3 separate regions of the Homo sapiens genome follow, and regions 2 and 3 are each linked to region 1. Evidence: promoter capture Hi-C in 16 types of primary human blood cells and fetal thymus (Javierre and others, 2016). All regions are on one chromosome and are shown on one strand. Each heading gives the region's core, a stretch centred on a gene start or on the middle of the fragment in contact. The rest is flanking DNA. Distances are from core to core; before and after follow the strand shown. Region 1 holds the start of PYM1 (PYM1 exon junction complex associated factor). Region 2 has its middle 7.0 kb from the start of TMT1B. Region 3 holds the start of BLOC1S1 (biogenesis of lysosomal organelles complex 1 subunit 1).

The links. The method cuts DNA at HindIII sites, captures the fragments that hold promoters and counts their contacts. A CHiCAGO score of 5 or more calls a contact.
Region 2: a fragment that was not itself captured here is called in contact with the fragment with the promoter of PYM1 in region 1 in 3 of 17 cell types (naive B cells, M2 macrophages and total B cells); the score reaches 5.5 in naive B cells.
Region 3: the fragment with the promoter of BLOC1S1 here is called in contact with the fragment with the promoter of PYM1 in region 1 in 12 of 17 cell types (megakaryocytes, endothelial precursors, erythroblasts and 9 more); the score reaches 8.1 in megakaryocytes.

The regions. Positions count from the first base shown.
Region 1 is chr12:55,925,773-55,930,176 of GRCh38, forward strand. It overlaps PYM1 (PYM1 exon junction complex associated factor), which reads right to left and starts at 2,122. Exons shown (of 3, transcript NM_032345.3): 1 at 1,953-2,122. The coding sequence starts at 1,989. It also overlaps a transcript of DGKA not described here. RefSeq lists a silencer at 1,064-1,213 and enhancers at 1,232-1,812, 1,304-1,523, 1,564-1,733, 1,813-2,393. The HindIII fragment of the contact is 1,291 bases long and covers 873-2,163 here.
Region 2 is chr12:55,672,559-55,676,962 of GRCh38, forward strand. No RefSeq gene overlaps it. Among named protein-coding and RNA genes, the nearest start is that of TMT1B, 7.0 kb to the right of the region's middle. RefSeq lists an enhancer at 1,060-1,199. The HindIII fragment of the contact is 3,457 bases long and covers 933-4,389 here.
Region 3 is chr12:55,714,796-55,717,383 of GRCh38, forward strand. It overlaps BLOC1S1 (biogenesis of lysosomal organelles complex 1 subunit 1), which reads left to right and starts at 1,251. Exons shown (of 4, transcript NM_001487.4): 1 at 1,251-1,401; 2 at 2,138-2,210. The coding sequence starts at 1,257. It overlaps BLOC1S1-RDH5 (BLOC1S1-RDH5 readthrough), which reads left to right and starts at 1,239. Exons shown (of 6, transcript NR_037658.1): 1 at 1,239-1,401; 2 at 2,138-2,210. It also overlaps a transcript of ITGA7 not described here. RefSeq lists enhancers at 1,296-1,435, 1,716-1,955. The HindIII fragment of the contact is 4,864 bases long and covers 1-2,183 here.

The sequences.
Region 1 (4,404 bases), core at 872-3,371:
TAAGGTAAGATGTGATACCTGGATTTTCACGGAGTCAGGGTAAAGAAAATGATTAAGAGTAAAGAGAAGTATACTGGATAAGTAGTATTTTCAAAACACACATTAAAAGTTGGTAATTCATGAAGGAGCTACTGGGTAGAGAACAGAAGGAAAGAGGTAGTACCACTTTAAATTGTGAGGTTGGGGAGAAGTAGCAGCAACCTGGGTTGTCATCAGATACCATAAAATAGGTGGGCTGAGGTGTAAGGAACATGGAAAGCAGCAGAGCAAGAAGCAAAATGGCACATTTTAAAACACCGTGTGTACCAAGGCACAGGCACACTGTTGCTTCTACAGACTACAGACTACACATATGAGGGCTACAAAAACAGAAACACTTTGCACTTGCACAGTATTTTATAAATTGCTTTTACATATATTATTTGATCATCATTGAGTAGCTATTACTACTATGCATATTTTCCTAAAGATGAGGCCATTAGGAAGGGACAAAACCATGATAAAAGCTGTGATTCTCCGTTTCCAACACATACACCTTACATACACAGCAGACACTTCAGCATCTCGGCCAGCCAGGCTGCAAATTCTTCTCTAGCCAGAAGGAATAGTGGGTTTTATTCACTTGTCAAAGGGCTTCGGAGAAAAGCCACTAGATACTTTCCTGTTTGCCTTTTCCCACCTTAGACCCCTCAATTTCTATCACCATCACGGGAGAAGGTAGCGAAGGGTGGCTCCATCAGGGAGAAAACTCAAGCTGAAAGTTGTATTAGGGTCCTCTTCCCTTCACACCTCTAAACCTCAGTGACCCAACAAATGAAGATACGGGAGAGGAAAAGGTACTATGTAGAAACGAGGAGGTCTTCAGCAAATAAAGCTTCGAGAAAAATAATGAAAACGGGACTGGGGTAGGGCAGAAACCAAGTATAGCTGAGATGGGGGAGGGGAAAAGAAGGAGGGCAGGAACTGGAGGGAAATGAGAGTGTAGAAGCCCCCAAGCCTGAAGAACCTAAAAGAGATATGAGTGGTCCAACTGCTGGAGAAAAGCTAAGGGCCCGTGAGGGTCCTGAAGCAGGGACCAGCACTGAAGGACCCCAGGGTTTGGGTGACCGGAAGCAGAGACCCCAAACACGAGACCAGAAGGGGGCGCAGGAGACACCCCGTAGGAGAGAATGAATGGGGAAGGCGGTCCGGGGGGCGGGGCAAAGGAGGGGCCCCGGGATGGGCGGGGCACAGACCCCTTTCCAAGTCCGAACCCCTGCCCCGAGAGCCCGGAGAGAAGCGGCTCCGCGCCTCCCGCACTCACCGCCGGTCTCGTCAGTAACATAGGGAGTCGCCATCTTGAAAACGCAAACCACTTCCGGCGTGAGCGGGCTGGGGTCCCGCCCCCCTCCCCACCGGAAGTGGAGTCCCGATCGTAGCAAGCCACCATCTTAGTCTTAAAGGGAGAGTGCACCATTTCATGGGCGGAGGTGGAGGAGGAGGAAGAGTGGAGAAGCTGAAATAGTTAATAAAATAAAGCCGTGGGCTTTTTACTGCCACCGATACCATTACTGAGCGCTTGCTGCCTGTAAAACAGTCCTCAGGGAGCCAAGAGAAGTTCCGAGGCACAGTCCCTCTCATCCCCAGGAACTCCTCGTACGTCCAGGACCTGCGAGGGAAAAGGGCGCAAGGCCCACCTGCACCCAAAAAGGGGGCCTTATAAATGAAGAAAGGAAGAATATCCAGGCTCTGGCCTGCACCCAGATCTCAGAGCGGCTTGGTGACGTGGAGCAGACAAACTCCAGGAACGCACTGGGGCGCACAAGTGTTTCTAGGGACGGTTGGAGACCCTATCTAACCCTAAGAAGGTGGGGAGGTCGAATTCGTGTGCCGATTGCTGTCGGCCAACCCACTCAACCACCAGAGACCCGCGGGAGGGGCGTGCAAGGCGGAGGGCGCCGCGGGTCGGTCACCTGTCTCCGTAGCCGCAGGGCTGCCGGCAGCTTCCATGGCCGAAGAGGCAGCGGACCAGGTTGGGCGGGCGGCCCTGGCCTGGCTCTGCCCCGCTGGGCGGCGCCGGGGATTCGGCGGCGAAGTGATGAGGGCCCTAGTTGCTTCTCGCCCAGACCTCCTAACCCTGAGTGCCTCCTCGGGCTGGGCCCTAGGGTCAGAGGGCAGGGTGAAAGCTTCTGGGCGGACCTACTTAGTATTCTAATTAAACTCGTCCAACCGCTGAGGATCTAAAGCGGGGCAACTCGCCAATAATCCGGTCCCGTAGTGTCACTCCATTTGTAGTCCTGCCCTGCGCCGTACCTCCCTATTCTGCAGACGAACCCATATGGTCTCCCTCCGCCGCCCATTTCAGCAACTGTTGTTCCTTCAGGGCTAAGTCCTGTTAAACTTGTTTCCCCTACAGCCTGAGAGGAGCCCGGCTGCAGGTTCCTCTCCTCAGGTGTCAACTCTGCCCTCCTCCACCCTCATATAGCTTTTTCCTTATCAACCCTTTTACCTTCCTGCTTATATCCCCACTTTGGCTTAGTTTAATGTCCAGCAGTACCCCTGGAACCAGGGAGGAGGCAGGAGGTAAGTATTGGTGACTACCTCCAACACTAGGCAGCATGTCCCATTTAAAAAACAAAACAAAACCCAGGCGCGGTTGCTCACGCCTGTAATCCCAGCACTTTGGGAGGCCAAGGCGGGTGGATCACGAGGTCCGGAGTTCAAGACCAACCTGGCCAAGATGGCGAAACCCCGTCTCTACTAAAAATACAAAAAAATTAGCCGGGCGTGGTGGCGGGTGCCTGTAATCTCAGCTACTCGGGAGGCTGAGGCAGAGAATTTCTTGAATCTGGGAGGCGGAGGTTGCAGTGAGCCAAGATCGCTCCACTGCACTCCAGCTTGGACGACAGAGTGGGACCCCGTCTCAAAAAAAAAAAAAAAAAAAAAAAAAAAAAACTAAAAAACTGAGCAATGGCTGACTAGGACCTTTATAAGACAAATTAGGCCTCAGAAGTTTTCTGGGGGCCGCAGCTTGCCTTCCTTCCCATCCTCCATGTCTGTGACTTCCACTAGAGGCCAATTCAGAATGTCTGGGGGTGGGGCTCATTTAAAAAGTATTTCCAGGCCGGGTGCGGTGTCTCATGCCTGTAATCCCAGCACTTTGGGAGGCCCAGGTGGGCAGATCACTTGAGGTCAGGAGTTCGAGACCAGCCATGGCCAACATGGTGAAATCCCATCTCTACTAAAAATACAAAAATTAGCCGGGTGTGGTGGCGAGTGCCTGTAATCCCAGCTACTCGGGAGGCTGAGGAATGAACCTGGGAGGTGGAGGTTGCAGTGAGCCAAGATCGTGCCACTGCACTCCAGCTTGTATTATAGAGCAAGACTCAGTCTCAAAATAAATAAATAAAAAGTATTTGCATACGATACACTGTTATTGCAAGTGTTGTGACACTGTGGTCTTAAACCCTTGCTCTCTTTTCACCGATTGTACTTCAGCCCTGCAGGGTCTAACATCTTGTCCTTAACCTTGTTATGATTAGACGTGAGAGTGTGGGATGAAGCCTCTAAGAACTAATGGGATACGTTGGTCTTGACTGAACTACCTCAGGAGTGGTCTCTGCAGCTTTCAGAGGCTGCTCAATAGACCTTTGTGCAGGAGGGAAACCTAAAGTCGCCCCTGTTCACTACCAACCCTAGGCCCCCTTCCCACCCCCAGACATCCTGCCTCAGCACTAGGGTTGACAGGAAGTGAAACTCAATTGTCTGCTTAGTAGACCTGCCTGGGACCCAACCCGGGGCCCCGGATGTGGCCCCCCACCCTGAGGAGGAACAGGGCAAAAAAGGCCGGGGAGAACAGGCTGTTGTTTTTTCCTTTCCCTTTGTTCATTGCGGTTTCTTTCTTTCTGATTTTTATGATGTGGTTGATTAAAGAAATGAGCACCTGGAACCGTAGGCATTAAACGCCTCCTTCTTAGATGTTTCTTGGCTTTTCTTCCCCCACCCACACCCCCCAGTAACTGACTTGGGGTATGATGGAGCACAGATCCTAAAGAAGACACAAAGAAGTCTAGAGTAAGACTGATTCCACCTTATTCCTTATTCGAGAGATAACATTACACCCCACTTTGAAGTACCAAAAACTATCTTAAAAGGAGTGTCTTCAACTTTATTTAGGGACATATCTAAAGACGATAGAGTGAGAAACACAGGTAATACATAGGGTGGCATTACTTTGAGCATTCTTTGCAAGGAAAGCTGAGTGCCTTAGAGATTAATATCGTTCCAAGATTTCTAAATGAAAGATCCAGGGACAGAAAACTGATAGGCAGAGGTGTTAGGGGACCTATTCTTACATTGTATGTTTGTTTAAAGTAGCTCAGAGCAGAGAGGCTTTACACACATTGCACCACTCATTGATATAGT
Region 2 (4,404 bases), core at 1,411-3,910, 250 kb before region 1:
CTCTTAACTGATCTCCCAGCCTCCAGTATTTTTTCCCTTAAATCAAACATCGGAGAAATGTTTCCAACAGACTAATCTGACTATCTTAGTCTGTTTTCTGCTGCTGTAACGTAATACCACAGACTGGATAGTTTATAAAGAATAGGAGTTTATTTTGCTTGTAAGTCTGGAGGCTAGTAAGTCCAAAAGACCATGTTGCCAGTGTCTTGTGAGGGTCTTTGTGCTGTGTTATCCCATAGCATAAGGGCAAGCAAGTCCATGAAACAGAGAAAAAATTAAGCCTATTCTCATGATAACTAATCCGCTCCTGTGACAGTGGCATCAATACATTCATGAGGGCAGAGCCTTCACAATTTAATTGCCCCTGAAAGGTCTCCTCTCTCAATACTGTTATATTGAAAATGAAATTTCGACATGAGTTTTGGAGGGGATATTCAAGTCACATGGCACTGACCATGTGACTCTTTCCCATTTCCTATAGGACAAGAGGCAAACCCCATAGATTAGTGTATAAGATCCTCAATGACATAGACATTTCTCAATGATATGGGTCCTTTCTCAATGATATGGGTCCTTTCTCAATGATATGGACCTTTCATTAATACATCTACTAAATGTGTATTGAGTGGTCCCTGAAACAGGCACTAGAAATGGCCCTGAAGATATTACCATGAAGAGAAAAATATACTCTGGCATTGTAGAGCTAACATGCTAGAGGAGACAGCCAATTTTAAAATATAGACAAGCCAGGCCTGGTGGTGCACACCTGTAGTCCCAGGTACTCAGGAGGCTGAGGCAGGAGGATCCCTTGAGGGCAGGAGTTCGAGGCCACAGTGCTGTAATCACACATATGAATAGCCACTGCACTCCAGCCTACACAACAGAGTGATACACCATCTATAAAATTAAATTAAAATATAGAAAAATTTAAAAGCTTAAATGTGATAAAGGTATTCATCATCTATTTGACATACACATTTTTAGTGTCTACTACTTGCCAGGCACATGCTAGATGCTAAACACGTGGTGATAAGGGAAAAGGACACAATCCTTACTGTTATGGAGCTCATGGGCAGACACTAATACCATAATAACAGTCATGAACAGTATCACAAACTGGCCTAAGGGCTGTTGACCAAAATGAATAAGGGAAGGGATGCTTGATACAAGAACCAAACAATGAGTTAAAAAATTAACTAGGCAGGAGGGAGGAGGGACTGCTGAAAAGAAAGCAAGCATATCAGGAAGAGGAAGACAAGCTCAACAGCACTGAAGCTAAAAGGAGTGAGAGTATGAGGAACTGAAAGAAGATTGTATAGCTAAAACACAGGGTTAAGGGAGGGTAGCATGAGAGGTGGACAGGGGCCAGATCACACAGGGCCTTATGGGCTACAGTAAGGAGTTCAGATTTTGTACCAAAGATAATGGGAATCCACTAAAAGGTTTTAAGCAGTGGGTGAAAGTGGAGAGACAGTTAATGAGGCCCTTGCAGTGGGCCAGGCAGCGGAGGGTCATGATCTGGTCTAGGGTTATGCCAGTGGAGATGAAAGAAATGCATGAAATTAATGAACTGGGAAATAGAGCTGACAGGACTTGTGAGTAACTTGAAAGTTATATATATATTGGCCGGGCGCGGTGGCTCACACCTGTAATCCCAGCACTTTTGGAGGCCAAGGCAGGCAGATCACGAGGTCAAGAGATCGAGACCATCCTGGTCAACATGGTGAAACCCTGTCTCTACTAAAAATACAAAAATTAGCTGGGTGTGGTGGTGCGTGCCTGTAGTCCCAGCTACTCAGGAGGCTGAGGCAGGAGAATTGCTTGAACCCAGGAGGCGGAGGTTGCAGTGAGCCGAGATCGCCCCACTGCACTCCAGCCTAGCAAAAGAGCGGGACTCTGCCTCAAAAAAAAAGAAAAGAAAAGAAAGTCATATATATGTTATAGAGAGATACAGATGGAGATGAAATGACATGATGTTTGGGATTTGCTTCAAAATGACACACAGGAGAAGGAAGCAGAAAGTAGAAAAGGATGTGGATGGGGAAGGATTGGCTGTGGGTTGATAGTTGTTGGGATGAATGATGTATACATGGGGGTATCTTATACTGTTCTGCCAACTTTTGTGTATATTCAAAATTCTCCATTATACAAAGTTAGAAATGAGAAAAGAAAAGGAGGAGACAGAGAAGAAATAGAATAAATCCTAGGTTTTTGGTTGAGCAATCAAGAAGCTAATGGTGCCATTCACTGAGATGATGAAGAAGATGGGCAGAGTAAGACAAGAGACTTGGGGAGTACCGTAAGTGTCATTTTGGACATGTTAAGTTTTATATGTCCAGAAGATATGCTGAGGAGGAGGATCAAGTACACAACTGGGTATACAAATTTGAAACTCAAAGGAAGGATCTGCACTAAAGATATAAATGTGTGAATAATTTGCATATACATGGCATTTTAAACCATGAAAATGGATGGGATTTGGTGAAAATTATGTGTCAATGTAGGTTCATCAATTGTAATAAATGTCCACTCTGGTGGGGGATACTGATAATGAGGAAGGCTAGTCATGTGTGAGGACAAAGGGTATGTGGAAAATCTCTGTACTTTCCTCAACTTTTCTATGAAGCTAAAACTGCTCTAAAAAATAAAGTCTATATTAAAAAAAAAAAGATGAGGTTATTTAATGAGAGAATTTAGACAGAGAAAGACCCAAGACTAAACCCAAAGAAACAAAATTTAAAGGTCGAGTAGATGAGAAAGATCTAAAAAAAGAAGTTTCTAAGAAGTAACAGCCACGGGAATGTTATAGAAACAAGAAGACTGTTATGTTAGGACAGCCTAGATGAGAGAATTTTTCAAGAAGAAATAGTAGCCAACTATTTCTGAAGCTGTTGAAAAGTCAGATAAGATGAGAACAGGGAATATTCACTGGACCTGGCATGTGGAAATAATTAATAGGCTTGATAATAATAGTTTCGGGTTTCTTTGTTTTGTTTTGTTTTGTTTTTAGAGACAGGGTCTCTCTCTGTCTCCCAGGCTGGAGTACACTGACCCAGTCATGGTTCACTGTAACCCTGAACTTGCAGGCTCAAGCAATCCCCTTGCCTCTGCCTCCTAAGTAGCTGGGGCTACAGGCGCATGCCACCACACCCGGCTAATTGGCTAATTTTTTTATTTTTTGTAGAGAAAAACAACAGCCTATGTTGCCCAAGCTGGTCTCAAACTCCTGGGCTCAAGCAGTCATTTCCTCTCGGCCTCCCAAAGTACTTGGATTACAGGCACGAGCCACCACGCCCGCCCAAAGTCATAATTCTTGAGTCATCTGCTCGTGTTATCTTGGTTTCCTCACCTTCCATTCACTCTTTCTCCCACTCCAATCCATCACTAATAAAAATTTCTTGGGCTTGGCACAGTAGCTCACGCCTGTAATCCCAGCACTTTGGGAGACCAAGACAGGAGGATGGCTTGAGGCCAGGAGTTCAAGATCAGCCTGGGCAACCCTGAGAGATACCCTGTCTCTACAAAAATTTTTAAAAGTTAGTAGGCATGGTGGTATGCACCTATAGTCCTAGCTACTCAAGAGGCTGAAGCAGGAAGGGCAGCACAACCCCAGGAGTTTGAGGCTGCAGTGAGTCAGAATGGTGCACTCCAGCCTAGGCAACAGAGCAAGATCCTGCCAAAAAAAAAAGACTTTGACATAGATTTGTAAAATGGAGTTTTAGCTAAAGTGACATGTGGTGTCAAGAGGGTCAGTTTATTATTAACCTGAAATATATTAGAGCATATTCATATTTTGAAAGATCCATGGAAAGGCAGAGATTAATGATTTAGGAGAAAGAAAGATAAAATGAAGACAAGAATTCATAGCAGCATTGTTTATAGTACCCCAAAAGTGGAAACAACCCAAATGTCTATCAACTGTTGAATAAATAAACAAAATGTGGCATATCTGTACAATGCAATGCTACTTGGACGTAAAAGGAATGAAGTATTGATACATGCTACAACATGTGTAAACTTTGGAAGCATTATGCTGTGTGAAAAGCCAGTCACATAGGCCACATGTAGTATGATTCCAATTACATGAAATGTCAAGAATAAGTAAATCCATACAGACATAAGTAGAGTAGTGATTGCCTACGGAAAGGAAATTGATGGTACTGGGGTTGGGATGGGGATGGGGGAAATGGGAGTAAGTGGTAAAAGCACAAGTTTCTTTTGGGGTAACGAAAATGTTCTAAAATTGATTGTGGTGGCTGGTTGCACAACTCTGAATATACAGTCACATGTTAAGTCATATGTTGCTTAACAACAGGAATAAGTTCCGAGAAATGCATCGTTAGGTGATTTTACCATTACGGGAACATCATCATAGAGTGTCCTTACACAAGCTTGGATGGTGTA
Region 3 (2,588 bases), core at 1-2,500, 210 kb before region 1:
ACATATATATAGTGATGTTTGGTCTTCACTCCTTAGATTCTATTTAATTAGTCTGGAATCAAGGCTTTTTTTTTTTTTTTTTTGAGACAGAGTCCCACTCTGTCGCCCAGGCTGGAGTTCAGTGGCGTGATCTCGGCTCACTGCAACCTCTGCCTCCCAGGTTCAAGCGATTCTCCTGCCTCAGGCTCCTGAGTAGCTGGGATTACAGGCTTGTGCCACTACGCCTGGCTAAATTTTGTATTTTTAGTAGATACAAGGTTTCACCATGTTGGTCAGCCTGGTCTCGAACTCCTGACCTCGTGATCCGCCCGCCTCGGCCTCCCAAAGTGCTGGGATTACGGGCGTGAGCCACCGCACCCGGCTAATCACGGCATTTTTATAAGCCTTGTGATTTCTGTGATTCTAATGTTTAGATTCTAATGCTTAGCCAGGGTTGAGAACCACCGATTTAATCCAATCCCTTCTCCTAGTTTTACTAAAGAGAAAACTATAACCTAGAATGGTGAGCAACTTGCCCAAAGTCACCCAACATGTTAGTGCAAGGTGCACCGAGAGAGATTGTACCAGTAGCAAGAATATGCTCATGATGTTTATAATTGTTCTCGCTGGAGTTAATCCCGGAAGCATTTCTTTTTAGTTCACAGAGGCCTTATATAAATTACTTTTTACTTTGGCACAGCACTTACGCTTCTGCTAACACTGAAATGGGTTCGCATTCCTGACCACAAAAGGACAGAGATGAAATTCTACATTCACACAGCCCGCCAAGTTAGCCAAGCTCCCTAGGAGGCTGTCTGAAGTGCCTAAAATGCTTCTCTACAATGATCACCCAGAGCTGAGAGACTTCAGTGGGGTAGTGAGAAGAAAGAGGGTTGGGAGAGACAGGAAAGCATCCTCTCCTTGAGGGAAGGAACTGGGAATCAACTGAGAACCAGCTAGCACTGCCAGGAGGTGAGGAGAGGGAAGGAGAATAATTTAAATGAGGCCAGGGAGCTTCTGCTCCCTCAATTAAACGGTGATAGACGGCCTGACACCACCAGCCCTCGAAGCCTGAGATCCACAGGAAATGTTAAAAACTGGCTTGGCAATATAAGTATTAGAAAATACTTCTTCCAACACTCACCAAAAACTAAGCTCCCAATAAAGAACACTTCACCTGCCCTCCGCAACCCTCTACCTCTCTTCCCCGCCAAGATCTTCACCCAAGGTCTCAAGAGGGCGGTTCCCAACCTCACGTGACACAGCGGTCACGTGACATGGCCCCGGGGAGCCGAGGTGAGCGTTCCAGCTTCCGGAGCCGGAGGGGGCCCGGCGTACCCAGCCCCCAGCCCGACGTGACCATGCTGTCCCGCCTCCTAAAAGAACACCAGGCCAAGCAGAATGAACGCAAGGAGCTGCAGGGTGAGCCAAATATCCTGTCGGCCGTTTTCTCTTCGGCCGCGGCCTAGCTTCAGCCCGGAGCCTGGATCTCGAGTAACTAACCATATCCAGGGAAAGACGCCAGCTAGCGGGCAACGGGCATGGGGGAGAGGGAATTTCAGAGAGGCTTTTTTTGAAACTCCTTTCCCTTGCCAACTGGCTCCGGTCCCTTGGGCAATACTCCGGTCCCCTCGGCAACGCCCCCAATCCCCGACCTGCCGCACCTTAGCCCCGCCCCTGCCCCGGAGCGCCCTGCCTATTGGCCCTGGGAGCCTCTCGTCCTGGCGGCGGGAAGGAGCGACTCTGGAGGGAGGAGGGTGTGGGGAACCCCCCAGAGATGGGCTTCTTGGAGGCCTGAAACCACCGGAACGGAGGTGGGGCACTTGTTTCCTGAGTCCGGGCTGGAAATCTCGGAGTTACCGATTCTGCGGCCGAGTAGTGGAGAAAGAGTGCCTGGGAGTCAGGAGTCCTGGGCGCTGCCGCTGACTTCCTGGCGTCCCTGAGTGAGTCCATTTCCCTCCCAGGGTACCAGTTTCCTCATCTCTAAAATGAAAGAGGTTGCGCTATGTTTTGCAAGGTCCTTTTCAGCTCCGGCATTCAGAGATTAGTTAAGAAATTTCGGCAACTAGCAGAATAGTAATGGATGGGTAGGGAACCTTTAACACTACCCCTCAAAAAACCAAGTCTCCCCTCCAATTCCTTTTCCCCCTCTCCCCAGAAAAGAGGAGGCGAGAGGCTATCACTGCAGCGACCTGCCTGACAGAAGCTTTGGTGGATCACCTCAATGTGGGGTATGGACCTCTTATCAACATCAGTTTCCTCCTTCCCCACCCCGCCCAAGTTTAGGCACTGGCCAGTCTGGCCCTCAAATAGCTGTTGAAGGGGTGGGATGTTCCACTAATTCCCCTATCCTACCCCGCCCCTCCCAGCTCTTTGTAGAGCAACTTGAGTCAACTCTGAGTCCTAGCACTGGGCAAGGGAGGAACAGCTGCCGTGGTTAGAGAAGCAGCCAGATTTCCCCTTCCCCACGTTAACTTCCCTGGCATTTACAACTTGATGCCATCTGCCCACCTCCCTTCACCCTTCCAAGTCCAGCTGTCACTTCAGCAGGAGGGAGAGCACCCTCCTTCATTACAGCTTACCACCCTCTCCTCTGCCTCCCACCCTCT